Regions from separate parts of the Homo sapiens genome. Here regions 1 and 3 are each linked to region 2. Evidence: promoter capture Hi-C in 16 types of primary human blood cells and fetal thymus (Javierre and others, 2016). All regions are on one chromosome and are shown on one strand. The core of a region is centred on a gene start or on the middle of the fragment in contact, and the rest is flanking DNA. Distances in the headings are between cores, read along the strand shown. Region 1 overlaps STX18 (syntaxin 18). Region 2 holds the start of MSX1 (msh homeobox 1). Region 3 overlaps STX18 (syntaxin 18).

The links. Contacts are between HindIII fragments. The CHiCAGO score rates a contact against its expected background, and 5 or more counts as called.
Region 1: a contact is called between a fragment that was not itself captured here and the fragment with the promoter of MSX1 in region 2, in 1 of 17 cell types (total B cells). The highest score is 5.6, in total B cells.
Region 3: a fragment that was not itself captured here is called in contact with the fragment with the promoter of MSX1 in region 2 in 1 of 17 cell types (total B cells); the score reaches 7.1 in total B cells.

What each region holds. Positions count from the first base shown.
Region 1 is chr4:4,521,601-4,526,010 of GRCh38, forward strand. All of the region lies in intron 1 of STX18 (syntaxin 18), which reads right to left. Among named protein-coding and RNA genes, the nearest start is that of STX18, 18 kb to the right of the region's middle. RefSeq lists an enhancer at 1-723. The HindIII fragment of the contact is 1,829 bases long and covers 1,603-3,431 here.
Region 2 is chr4:4,858,001-4,862,245 of GRCh38, forward strand. It overlaps MSX1 (msh homeobox 1), which reads left to right and starts at 1,665. Exons shown (of 2, transcript NM_002448.3): 1 at 1,665-2,368. The coding sequence starts at 1,900. RefSeq lists silencers at 1,487-1,546, 1,567-1,806, 1,817-2,256. The HindIII fragment of the contact is 17,724 bases long and covers 1-4,245 here.
Region 3 is chr4:4,491,256-4,495,761 of GRCh38, forward strand. All of the region lies in intron 1 of STX18 (syntaxin 18), which reads right to left. Among named protein-coding and RNA genes, the nearest start is that of STX18-IT1, 12 kb to the left of the region's middle. The HindIII fragment of the contact is 4,618 bases long and covers 945-4,506 here.

The DNA.
Region 1 (4,410 bases), core at 1,267-3,766, 340 kb before region 2:
GTTAGAATACAGATGATTGTAGAAAGGGTATTTAAAATTATTAACTGATCAAATATTTGTAGTTGTCATTAAAAAAAAAATACAACTTAGCAATTCAGTTCAGAAAGAAGAATATCCCCAGGAACATACACATCTGTTTAATATTACAAGCCAACTGTCAACATCCTAAGTGAAGTTTTAATTTAATATTTTTTCTTTCTTGATGTTTTACCTTTAATCAATGCCTCATGAGAGTATCAACTTTCTATAAGAAACTGTTAAATATAAAGAAATGTTATTGTAGCATGTTTATAAAATCATAGTTCGAGAACTTTTTATTTTTCCAAAGCCTGACCACAACTTAATTATCTGCAGGACATTCCAGGCTCACAATTGCAAGCTCCAGTTCCCAAGCAATTTTAAACAATATCTACTGTACAGGACAGAGGGTACACAAAAGACCGCAACATGGTTATATTTCCAAAAGTCAGCATTAGGCCCTTTAGACATGGTTTTTATTTTCATTAAACAATATTTGTTTCCTCACTAATCATTAAATGGTTTTCATCACTATTGCCTGCTTTCCTTTCACATGTCAGTTGTTAGCATCAGTGTTTGTGTTCATAATAAATATAAAAGTAATCCACCCCATCATTTAAAAATGAACACACACGACGTCTGGTTCAATGAGTGTTAAGAGACTTAGCAATATACTCACACCCTGAATACTGATCTATTTTAATCTAGACACTTAAAAAAACGTAATGGAGTAATAGACTATACAGCCCTCTCCTTTAAATCAGATTTAAGCTTCGTGCCTGCTTATGTTATTGTGGGCACACAGATCTAATCAGTGGTTCAAGACATTTACTTGGGAAAATGAAAGAAGAAGACAGTAAGTTCATATCCCTGACCATAATGGGGAGGAGTTGAGAATATTGCCAATTCCTTTAGATGCATGAGAAAACTAGCCTGATTAAAAGTAACACACTAGAAACTGACCGAAATGTGGAGGAGCAACTCACAGAGCACTCCAGAACTTTAGGAATAATTCTGAGAAAGTAAATTTTAAAAATAAATAAAAGCTGTATGCTATAAAGTATTAGGAACAATAAAAAATATGTGAAGTGTGGAAGAAACAAAGAAAAGTATAACAAAGTCAGAGGTAAAATTAATCATCAGTAGAAAAAAATAATCCAGCAAATAATCTGGAAAACCTTCAAGAAGTCAAGATACTTGCATTGTTGCATTGGAACTAGCAGAGTTTCCAGAAAATCAAATTATTTAAGTACAAATAAACTAATTTTGGATTTCAGATTAACTGGCCAGCAGCTATGTGAGTGCAGAGAGACAGAAATGTACAAACACATGTGTTTACTGGCGTATGTGTTTATCAAACATTCTATAGCACTTCTTATGTGCTAAGCACTTTCAAGGTGCTTTACTCAAATTAATTCTCCAAAATTAGGTACTACTTTATTCCCATTACATAGATGAGGAAATGAGGTTAAATATTTTATCCACAGATCAGTTGCAGGAGGTGGTAGAGCCCAGAGTCCATGCTCTTAACCATCATGGCACAAATCATTCCAGGTGACATTACCTCTAATCCAAGTAAAAACAAGCTTATTACTTGGAGGGATCCACAGGCCTACGTTCTCCATAGCTGCCTCCTCAGACTTCTTATTCTCTGCTGGCTTCTCAAATGTAGTCTTTTCCCAGGGACTACTCTGAGGCCCTCTTTTCTTCTGACTTGAAATTCCCCTTGGGTGATCCCACTCTTTCCTCAAGGCTTCAATCTCCATTTACATTCTGATGTCTTTTCCAGTCTAAATTCCTGGCTTAGAAATCTTTCCTCCAGTACATTTCTATATTTACAACTGCCTGGGAAACGTGTCCCTTGGGTGTTCAGCAGGCACCTCAAGTAACTACAAACCTGAACTCATCTTAACTACCTACCTATCACAATGAAAACCTCAAAGTCATCTATAACCACTGATTCACATCTCCTACATTGAACAAGTCCCAGCTCTTCTCAAATATATCGAGTCTACTCCCTAGCTCTATAGTAACGAGCTGAGTTCAGGTCCTTGCTGTATCTTGACTAGACTTGATTACTGCAACAGCTCAACTGGTCCTCCTCCTTGCTGCCAGTCCTTCTCACCTCTGCCGAATCCACCAACTGCCAGCAGAATGATCTTTCTCAAATACATACCTAACCACATTAGTCCCCTACTGAAAACTTTTTCTAGTGCACCATGGCCTTCGAGATAATGCCATTCCTCTCCCATTCTAGGGGAATCTCTTTTTACCCTTCAAGGCTTAACTCAAAACTCACCTCTCCTGTTATGCCCTCTCCCTTTAACCCCTCCCACTGAGTTCTTCACTTCCACCTGTGTCCACAGACACTTTGATAGCAGCACTTATTAGAACATGCTTTAGTTATGTGCCTCTAAGTCTATTTTTTTCCCTAGATTATGTGTTTCTCAAAGTCAGACATTGTCTCACTCACGTTTGTACACCTAATACCTAACCTAGTTGTATGCCTGGCATATAGTTGGTGCTTAACAGTAAGTGACTATGAGTAAGTGAATAAATAATTCATTCTCAGAGATACCTTCAGTTCAAAGTGGTATTTATAATGCCTAAAGCAGAGTGAATGGGCACAATTTTGAATGCAATGTACATCTCTTGTTGGCCACCCCCATGCATTGCTCCCCTCCTTCTGGGAACAGCTCCCCAAATTTCCTTTGGAAACAATTCGTCCCTGATTCTCAGCCAAATGTATTGGGTGGAAGTAACATACTGCATCAGATGCAGAGCTGGGTCCTAAATGGACCAAGCTAGGCAGTATATCCTTTTAGTGGCAACAGGAGTGGATTGAGGATAAGAATATCACTCAATTTGAGCCAGTAAGAGAAAGTGAAACCCAGTCAAGCAAAGAGCCTCTCTCTTCCTCCAGAGGGGGCATTATGAGAAAGTGAGGCCTGCAAGTGCTGCAGCTCAGTGGCTGCCACAAAGCAAGGGCGTTAGAGGCGCCTTAAAGGCGCCAACACTGTGTGTGCAAGGCAGAACAGAGGGAGTAAGAAAAACCAGGCCTGTGGTGACACTGTTTGGTTCACCGAGTCCAGCCATGCCAGAGGTTAAGTCATACCACTAGACTTTTCAGTGATATAAATCAATAAATTCCTTTGATCACTTAAGCTAATTTGTGTTGGATTCTCTGTAACTTATAACCTTAGTAAGACTTCTGATAAAGCAAGTTAGTGTTTATGGGAAGAAAATCAAGCCACACATTTGAAGAAATGTACAGAAAAAGGAGACAAACAGGGAGAGGGTGAGAGTGGACCGCAAATTAAATTTGATAGGATACGAAGAAAAGAAAAGAAAAGAAAAGAAGCTAACAAGGTACAACACAAAATAGAAGAATGAGATTCCAGATGTGGAAGGAAAGCTTTCCATTCCAGACAGCATCAGTCAGGCCCACATAGGGGTATCCTGTGGTACATTTATGAAAAGAATAAAGTTTTATAAAGAGCTAGAAAAAGAAATTTTAAAAGTAACCAATGTTTCTTTTTGAAAAGGCCTTTATGAGAAAAAAGAAAAGACTTTGGGATAATTTAATCTGGAGAAAGCAAATCCTAGAGGCAATTTAACTTGTTGAAGGGTTATTTATAAGGAGGTGACTAAACAGCTGTTCTCCAATTTCACAGGGAAAAGAATGAGAGGAAATTGATTTAAATTTCAGTATGAAGCTCAAGGCAGGCAAAGGAGAAGTGCTTGAGGGAGAACTGTTAATGATGAAAAAAACTAAATGGAAAACTGGATTTTTATGGCTTTTAAAAGATGGAAAATTACCTGTGTTGATTCATTTAGTTTGGGGGTAAAACTACTAAACAAATATTTGAGGTGTGCCTTCTGTTCATTTATTCAAATGCCATGTATGAATCCCTACTATGGGCCAGATGCTCTGCAAGGCACTAGGAATACAAAGACCAAGAAGATATGGTGTCTGTTCTGTCTAAAGGCTGTATTACTGGGTACAAGAGCCACTGTGCTAAATACAAAGAAGCATGAAAATAGAGTCCTGCTCTCTCCTTTTCCATCCCCTGTGCCCAATATAAGCCCACAAATAAACAATATCATTTGAGAGATAACACAATCGCAGCTGAAAGGTTAAGTGACAATGTTATTACTAGATAAAAACACAAAATAATAAGGCAAGGGATGTCACAAGCCATACATATTTCCATAGTAAGAATACAGGCAGCAAATGCTTTCAATTCAAGAGGAGACTAGTATAGGCTAGAATGTGCCTTTCAAGATCAATGGAATTTGAGAAAGTGAAGGAGAGCAAGCAGTCCAGGCAAGAGAAATAGCAGGAGCCAAGGAAGGAGGCAAGAAGCTGAGGGGACTGCTAACAGAGCAGCA
Region 2 (4,245 bases), core at 415-2,914:
TTGGGTCCTTTAGAAACCTGGAGATGTGCGTAAAATTCAGATGCCGGTATTCCCGAACTTCCCCAGGCCTCAGCATATCTCGGCGGCCTGTGGACAGATGGGAGGCTACCAATCGCTCCGGCGTCCGCAGCCCGACCCCTGCCGCCAGACCCCGGACGTCTTCCGGATAATAAAGTTCCCGCTCTAATTCATTTTCCCTAATCTGGACGCCCCTAATCTACAGCTTTTATTGCGCCCAGTTAAAAGTCGAGGGAATTCGCTGTCCCTCCGCGCTCGGATAATTACCCCTAAATGGCCACGGCAGCCCCTTGTGTTTCCTGGAGATTAGAACCCCGCAGTCATCAATGGCAGGGCCGAGTGAGCCGCCAATCACCTCCGCTCACTCCCTGAGAGCCGCTGGCCTGGGCCGCAGGAGGAGAGGCCATAAAGCGACAGGCGCAGAAAATGGCCAAGCCCCGACCCCGCTTCAGGCAGATCTTGCATCTCCCCTGACCCCAACTCATTTTTTCTGTCTTTATTATTATTATTATTATTAACAGCAAACATTAAATCACGTTTTCTCCGAAATTGGCAAAAGAAGAGTTCTCAAGTCCCACACTAGAGTCCACCTCCAGGAACTTTCCTCTTTTCCCAGCCCCCTCCCCCAAATGTGCCTCTCCCCTCCAGGATCAGCGGCCCAGAGATAGGGACATGTCATTGTTTCCGAGGACGCGTTGTTTGAGGTCACCTTAAGGCCAGATCGGTGTTTCATTGACGATTCTGTTGGTTTTATTTCAGTAAGTTCTATATCAAAAGGATCTGGCAGCTCCTTTCCCCGCCCGGGCGCTATAGGTGTTGTGACCCTTGGGACAGAAGTTCAGAGCGAGGGTGGGGGGGGGGGAATACACATCGTGTATGAAAACCGACTGCAGATTCTAGATAATCTTACGTATTCTCACATCCTTGGCACTACAGGAAGCTAGCTTCTTCCCGCAAGGTTTACTCCAGCTCTAAGTTAGAGACAAAGGCCCACTTTTACCTCGAGGTAAAGTTTACAAGATTTCAGAACAGGAAGAAAATGAAGGTTTGGTTTTGTTTCGTTTCTTGAAAAGAAGTTAATAGTATGTCTTTCTCCTAGGATAAATAGCCATGCGTATTTTAAAAACTATATATAAAAGGAATGTGTAAGAAATAACCTCAACTCAAATTATTGTGGTAGAAGAAGAGGGGGGGTCAGACAGTGGAGGGGGGCACAGGGAAACCCAGCCACAGACTAAAGAGAAAGGTAAAAGAAGCAGTAGAGGAGAGAAACAAGGACGGGGAAAAAAAGAGGAGCGGAAAAGAGGGCTGAGGAGGGGAGGGGAGGGGAGGAGAGGAGGGCAGAAGAGAAGGAACGAGAACAAGGGAAAATCCCCCGGGAACACAGAAAGATAGAGACCCAGGGGACTCCCGCAGAGAGGGCCTCTTGGGCTTCAGCGCAGAGGAAAGTTTCCCGGGCACCCCCTCTCCTCCCCTGCCCTCCGCCGCCTGGGCCCTGCCCTGCGTGCCCCCAGGCCCAGCGCGCCTCCGGGCGAGTCCCCAGGAGCGCGGCCCAATGGATCGCTCCGGGCCCGCCCCCTCGCGCGCTGATTGGCCGCCGCCCCGCTGGCCTCGCCTTATTAGCAAGTTCTCTGGGGAGCCGCGGTAGGGCCCGGAGCCGGCGAGTGCTCCCGGGAACTCTGCCTGCGCGGCGGCAGCGACCGGAGGCCAGGCCCAGCACGCCGGAGCTGGCCTGCTGGGGAGGGGCGGGAGGCGCGCGCGGGAGGGTCCGCCCGGCCAGGGCCCCGGGCGCTCGCAGAGGCCGGCCGCGCTCCCAGCCCGCCCGGAGCCCATGCCCGGCGGCTGGCCAGTGCTGCGGCAGAAGGGGGGGCCCGGCTCTGCATGGCCCCGGCTGCTGACATGACTTCTTTGCCACTCGGTGTCAAAGTGGAGGACTCCGCCTTCGGCAAGCCGGCGGGGGGAGGCGCGGGCCAGGCCCCCAGCGCCGCCGCGGCCACGGCAGCCGCCATGGGCGCGGACGAGGAGGGGGCCAAGCCCAAAGTGTCCCCTTCGCTCCTGCCCTTCAGCGTGGAGGCGCTCATGGCCGACCACAGGAAGCCGGGGGCCAAGGAGAGCGCCCTGGCGCCCTCCGAGGGCGTGCAGGCGGCGGGTGGCTCGGCGCAGCCACTGGGCGTCCCGCCGGGGTCGCTGGGAGCCCCGGACGCGCCCTCTTCGCCGCGGCCGCTCGGCCATTTCTCGGTGGGGGGACTCCTCAAGCTGCCAGAAGATGCGCTCGTCAAAGCCGAGAGCCCCGAGAAGCCCGAGAGGACCCCGTGGATGCAGAGCCCCCGCTTCTCCCCGCCGCCGGCCAGTGAGTAGCCAGAACCCAGGCGCAGAGGGAGGGGGCCGGGTGGGGGCCGGGTGGGGTGTGGGACCCGAGGGCTCCTGGTGGCCTCCGGCGCCTGCGTACCTGCAGCCGGTGCTAGGGAGCCGTGGGCTGCAAGGCCGGGTCTTGCGCCTCCCTCCACTCCCACCCAGGAAGAAGGTTCCAGACCTCCTCGCCTTGGCCCAGAGACGCTGCGGGTGGGAGTTAACGGATAGGACACCGATGTCTGGGCACCCTGTCCTCCTGCCCCCACCAAACGACCTCAGGGGTCCATGATCCCTCATCTGATCCCAAACTCTGTTTCATCGGCTTCACCCCAGCGGATGAATGTGTGTGGTGCGGTATCTTCCCTGCACCCGGAGTTTCACTTTCTCGCAGTAGGAGCTGGTGTCCCCCAGCCCCTCTTCCCTTTCAAGTACCTCTTTGCCTAGAGGTTCCGAAGCTCCTACAGAATTCTACCTCCCCATGCCCTTTGAGTTTGAGGCAGATAGTTGGTGCTTTGGGCGGATGGATGATTCAGGGGTGGGGACATTCAGGTTCCAGTGGAGGGGGCGGGGCACCAAGTCAATTAGGGGAAGGCGCCCCCGCTAATCCTATGGGAAGCTCCCAAACGTCTAGGACTGAGCCATTAAAGTGGACTCCAGGTGCCCAAGGCGGTTCGCTCCAAGGCCTCACGGCCCCCTGGCTGCTCTACTCAGAGAACACGCTCGGAGATATTTCAGGAGCACGGGAAATTCCCAAGTTTTCCTCGTTTCCTCCGATTATTTTGCTCGGCATAATAGCAGCCAGATTTCAATGGCGTGATGCTGAGGAATGATTTTTATCTGGGGATTAAACGTCTTTGAAAGGCCAGTCCCTCCCTAAGCCTAATGGCCGGAGAAGGTGGCCCCGCTCTGGGTTGTCGCCGCTGAAGGGAGTGACGTTTCTCTCGGCGCCCGCCCCTCGGGCGGCCCGGCGGAAAGCTAGTTGGGGGCCAAGCGCTTCCCGGACTCCCGGTGGCCTCCAGCAGGGAAGAAGCGGGGTGTTAACACGAGATTTCGTTTGACTCACATCCTGGTGGTCTGAAAGTCCAAAGGATCGTTGTGTTTTCTTTGTTTTGTTTTGTTTTTTCTGTTTGTTTGTGGTTGTTTTTTAGAGAGGTGTGAAAAAATGCATACTTAGGCAAAACCCGCGTGGTGAAACATCTTCGATTTGAATTCACTTTCTGCCGGGAAAGCTGCTGCATAGGCAAAGTGTCCTTTCCAACGCTTAGGGCCTTGGGCCCCAAGACCCCGAAGTCAAAGCGATCCCGGCTGTGTTGGGATAATTTGTTCCACATTTTATCCGGGGGCAGTCCCCAGCAGACCCCATCCCCGACCTGCACTAGTCCTGCGCTCTGATGCTTCTTCACTGTCCACCCTTGAGGTTTATTTTGAAGCCAAAAGAAAAAGACAGCTGGGCATGTTGATGTCTGCTGACTATGCCACAGGTTGAGGGGAGAGGCGATCTCAACACTCCCCCCGCAACAACATCAACACACACACACACACACACACACAAACGTTTGAGTGGGGCCAGAGGGCCCTGGCGCCAGGGGTGAACGCGATCCAACAGAGGACTGAGACAATCTAAAGAAAAAGCCCATTAGAATAAAGCAGCCCCTCGTTCTCCGCTCCAGATGACACTTTCTGTTTCTAAGAGGGCTGGCCACAGTGCACCCTCCATGATGGTCTGCGCTGCTCCATCTCTGGTCTGCGGGAACTACTCCTAGAATCCCGTAGGAGCGAAGTGTTCCGGGGAAAGTGTAGAATTTGATTTGGATTCTATGCCACAAAACTGCCTAGCCCCACACTGAAGCACTCCGTGGGCACTGATAAATGTTT
Region 3 (4,506 bases), core at 2,004-4,503, 370 kb before region 2:
ATATACAAAATGCCATTTCTTTCAAAACTTCAGTCTGGACATTTTATAAATCTAATTTCACTTTTCCTAAAAACATGAGGATATTTTACTATATAAGGCTCAATTAAAGTTTTAGTAAATAAAAATAACAAAAGAAATGATACCATAATACTAACGTAGGAAAAAGGATATATATTAATTTCATTTACTGAAAACGTTGAGGGTTTTTTCCTTGAAGTGTCTCTACTATAGATTTTACACTACATTTATTAAAATATGACAAACCTTTAACCTGGGAACAATTTACCAGTTAACATCATCTACCGAAAGAGGAAGTATACTTTGGGTAAGTAAGACACTGGAAACGATTTATGCTGCCTTTTTTCAAAGCTGCTTAGAAAATGGCTATGTACTTTTAAAAAATAATCATTAAAAACAGTCTAACGGTTGTCTTGTGATATCGTTGATCACAAGCCTAGTGATGCCACCTAATTCTAAAGACTGAAATGTGCCTCTCAAAGGGATCTAGCGCAGCCACAGTGTAATATACGTTAAAGGTAATGAAACTAAAAAGTAAGATTTCCTAATAGAATGAACATATTTTAAAGTTTTTATGATTGACAAAAGACTTCTTTTTTTAGCCATTAAAAAACTAAAAGTATCCTGACAAGAGATTCTGGTTTTGAAGTATGTCACACTCCGGTTACCCAGCCATGAATCTCAGTTCATTTTTTAAAATGAGGTCTATTTCCTGTAATTTTAGATATTTTAGAGTACAATTATTTTACATTTTTATGATGCCTTTGGGGTATCATTACAAATATTTTTATGTGTTTAAACTTAGGAAAGAAAAATTAAGTAATAGCTTCTCTTATAGGGAGCTGTCAACTCTCTCCTGGACAAAAATCTTTGTTTTAAAGCAATCTAGAGATTTATATCCCTAGTAACCATAGAAATTAATCTTAAGCTTTAGAAAAAAATTGCATAAAATGCTCTTTATTTAATTAAAATCAGAGCTCATTCTTAGAAATAAGAACCTTCTTTCGAACAGAAAGAATTTTCCACAGAGTATAGGTGGTACTCTTTGTGATAAATGAATCACGCACATTTAATTGACTTTTGAATTGTGTGCATAGAAAGTTAAGTACTTTGTTGGAAAGGATTCGCTCAGGGACTATATTCACTGAAAACTTTTCATAAGAAAAGAAAGTGAAACACAGGATTCAAACAGTGTTTGTAGATTATCTGAGTGTGAGCAAGAAAAAAAGCATAAAGAAAAGCATTTGACAATAACAATTAGGAGAATCACTCATGGGGAGGTCACTTTGTTTTTATTAGGAAACTGAAAATATTTTTCAGCGTGCCTTAGTATGACGATGCATCAACACATCATAAATCAAATTTCATTTTGTGATGACTATCACTTTCTATTTCACATGCATTAAAAAAGAGACATGTTCTGAATTCTGCTTATCACCATATGACTAAGAAGTTTATTTCAGATTTAGAAACCAGTCGAGGATGTCTGGGGCAGTCAACAATGCTCTGCTTAGCCACTCTCTTCCCTAGTAGTCTGAAAAAAATGTGTGCATTTAAGAGATGGTAATAACAAACTCCTCAAATATTTTTAAAATGTCAAAGTTTTTAAGGCTTATAAAATTCAGATTCTGGGCAAATCTGTGTACTTCCAAATTTAACTTACATGAGATTTAAAATTCATGGCTTCAGATTTTTCTCTGCATAATAAATAATTTTAAAAGTTATTCACATTCTGATTCCATTATATTTTTAAAAACCCACTTATTTGGAAAAAAAGATATTGCTGATCATGTCATACAATATTAAATATCCATAAAGTGCTCAGAAAGTGTACTGTAAACACCAAGTAAAGTCAAACTGCAAATATTTCTGCTTTCAGACAATCAAAGTCTTTGGAGAGGCCTGAAATAGGTGTTTCTCTACACACATTTAGGCACCACTAAAAATGCTAAACATTATCATTTTCTCTAAGCAACCCCAATTTTTGGAAAAGGCACAGGCATTCCCAACCCCCCCGCCCCCTCCACTGCCCATGGTTAATTTCATAGTCCTACAAAGAGAAAATTTACTAGGCACTTCAGGGAATCAAGACATCGTGGTACACGTAATGAGTTGCAGAAAGAGACAGAAAGTGATTAGGAATTGTAAATAGTAAGAATAGGTAGTTTCCACTGTATTTAATTGACACCACAGCATATTCACCTGGTAGTTCTAAAAATGATTCCTCTATGATTAAAAAAAATTGTTTTTGTTTAGGTGGGAGAAATATTGATTCAAATGACGCATCTTATTATCTTCATTGTAGGCTGCACACTTCCACAGCAATTGGTCCTCCAAGTAAACAGTACCTATCATGAATTTTCACTTTTAATTCAAATTATAATAATCAATGATACTAGAAGTCTAAATCTATACTAAAGCATCAATAGAAAATATTGTTAATAATGGTTTTAAAATAAGCGCAAAGCATAATGCTGTTTTGAAGTTTTTACAGTATGCTTAGAAAAACAAAATGTAGGTGTTCTACTAGAAATGTAGCTGGAATATCTTCATTCCCCTCTGTTTTTAACCTTATACATGCAAGAAATTATGAAGATACAACAGCCTCATTTTCATGGGAAAACAGAACTGGAAAGAGGTTCGTGGGCTTTCAATCACATGTGGTTTGAATGTCTTTAACTCTTTTCCCTCTCATGCAAGAAAAGTCAACAAGGTAAATATATGTTATTTTTCAGTACCTCCATAAGCCCATATCCCATGGTGGTATCCTTTAGGATTTTATCTCAAAGTCTTACACTGGGGTCAGGTAAGCTAGGCCTACAAAATTGTTTTGAGGGTTACATAACATATACATGAGCACACTGAAGTGATAGAGAAGACAAATGCTACGAAGTAAAAACTGATAATGATCACAGCACCAAGAAAGTATTTATTAACTATTTGTACACTACATATTGTACAGTACATATATTTGGGCTCACAGTGTACCCTTGGTCAAGTTCCTTCTCCAGGCTTCAATCCTTGCTAATAAAATGAAGAGACTGCATTCCCTGATCCCTAAGGTCTAGTCCAGCTCCCCAAATTCCCTGGCTTCTTGCATTTGACTGAAGACTGAACAGCATACTTTCAAGTGATTTTTCATATCCAAGTCTCGGTGCTGTGCTTCACTTACAAGGCAATGGATTTAGCATTCATTTCTGATGACTACATTACAGAGCATATTCCATATTTCATTGAATCTTCACAAAAGTCCTCTAATATTATCACTTCTCCCATTTTATAGGTAAGAACAGTGTGGCTCAGATATGTTAGAGTTGCTATTTAATCCTAGATCTCTCTTATTAACTATCCTTGTTCTTCCCCTGATGCAAAAATAACAATATATTGAATCACATGCTGAGGAATTAACAATCAAGCTCCAGGTTACCTGTAAAATGCTTTGCGCAGGTTACATACAGGTGGGAAGCATCTCCCTGTCTCCATGGTGCCTGTCTTACAGAGCTAAACCAAAAAGCTGTGTGTCCTTAATTGCAAAAGGTCATTAGGAGCCCCACGTGTGCCAAGAAATCAAGGAAAGAAGAGATTACAAAGGTCTAGAAAACAGAGAGAGAGTGACTTTTAACCTGAAAGCAGGAGAAGAGGGAAGATCTGATTGGTCTCATGTAGGGCCCTGTAAAAATTATTTATCCCTTCCCCACCCTGCTCCATAAGGCCCCTGGATGATTCTAATGTACAATCAGGGTTGAGAACCACTGATGTAGGAGCCAGAGGAAAGAGGTTGAGCATGGACTTTGGAATCAGACTGCCTGGATCTAATGCAGGCTGACATTCATGAATTATACAGCATTCCAAACTTACTTAACCTGTCTTTGCCTCAGTTTCCTCACTTGTAAAATAGGAAAGATATAGTACATGCCTCAGAGTGTGTGTGAGGATGAAATGCAAAGGGCCTAGAAAAGTGCCTGGCATATATAAGTTCTAGGCTAATATTGGAAGACCTCAAATGTCTAGTGAAGGATTTCTGTAAGCCAACAATGTTAAAATGTTCTCTTACAAATGATGGGGACGCAAGATGGCAGCTTTTCTTCTTTCTTTCCTGTCTTTCTTCTCTCTCTCTTTCTCTCTTTCTTTCTGAGACAAGGTCTTCCTCCATCACCCATGCTGCTGTGCTGTGACATGATCATACCTCAATGCAGCCTCAAACTTCTAGGCTCAAGCAACCCATCTGCCTCAGCCTCCCAAGTAACTGGGACTACAGGCACGCGTGTCTGGCTAATTTTTTTTCTTTTCTTTTTTTTTTTTTTTTTTTGAGAGACGAGGTCTTGCTATGTTGCCCATGCTGGTCTCAAACTCCTGGCCTCTAGAGATCCTCCTGCCTTGGCTTGCTTTCTTTTATATTTAAATTGTACAACTAAACGCAAAAACAAAGATAATCTTGTATTAGTCCACCTCCAGCACCTCCCCCAGACCAAATTTTTAAACAGGAAA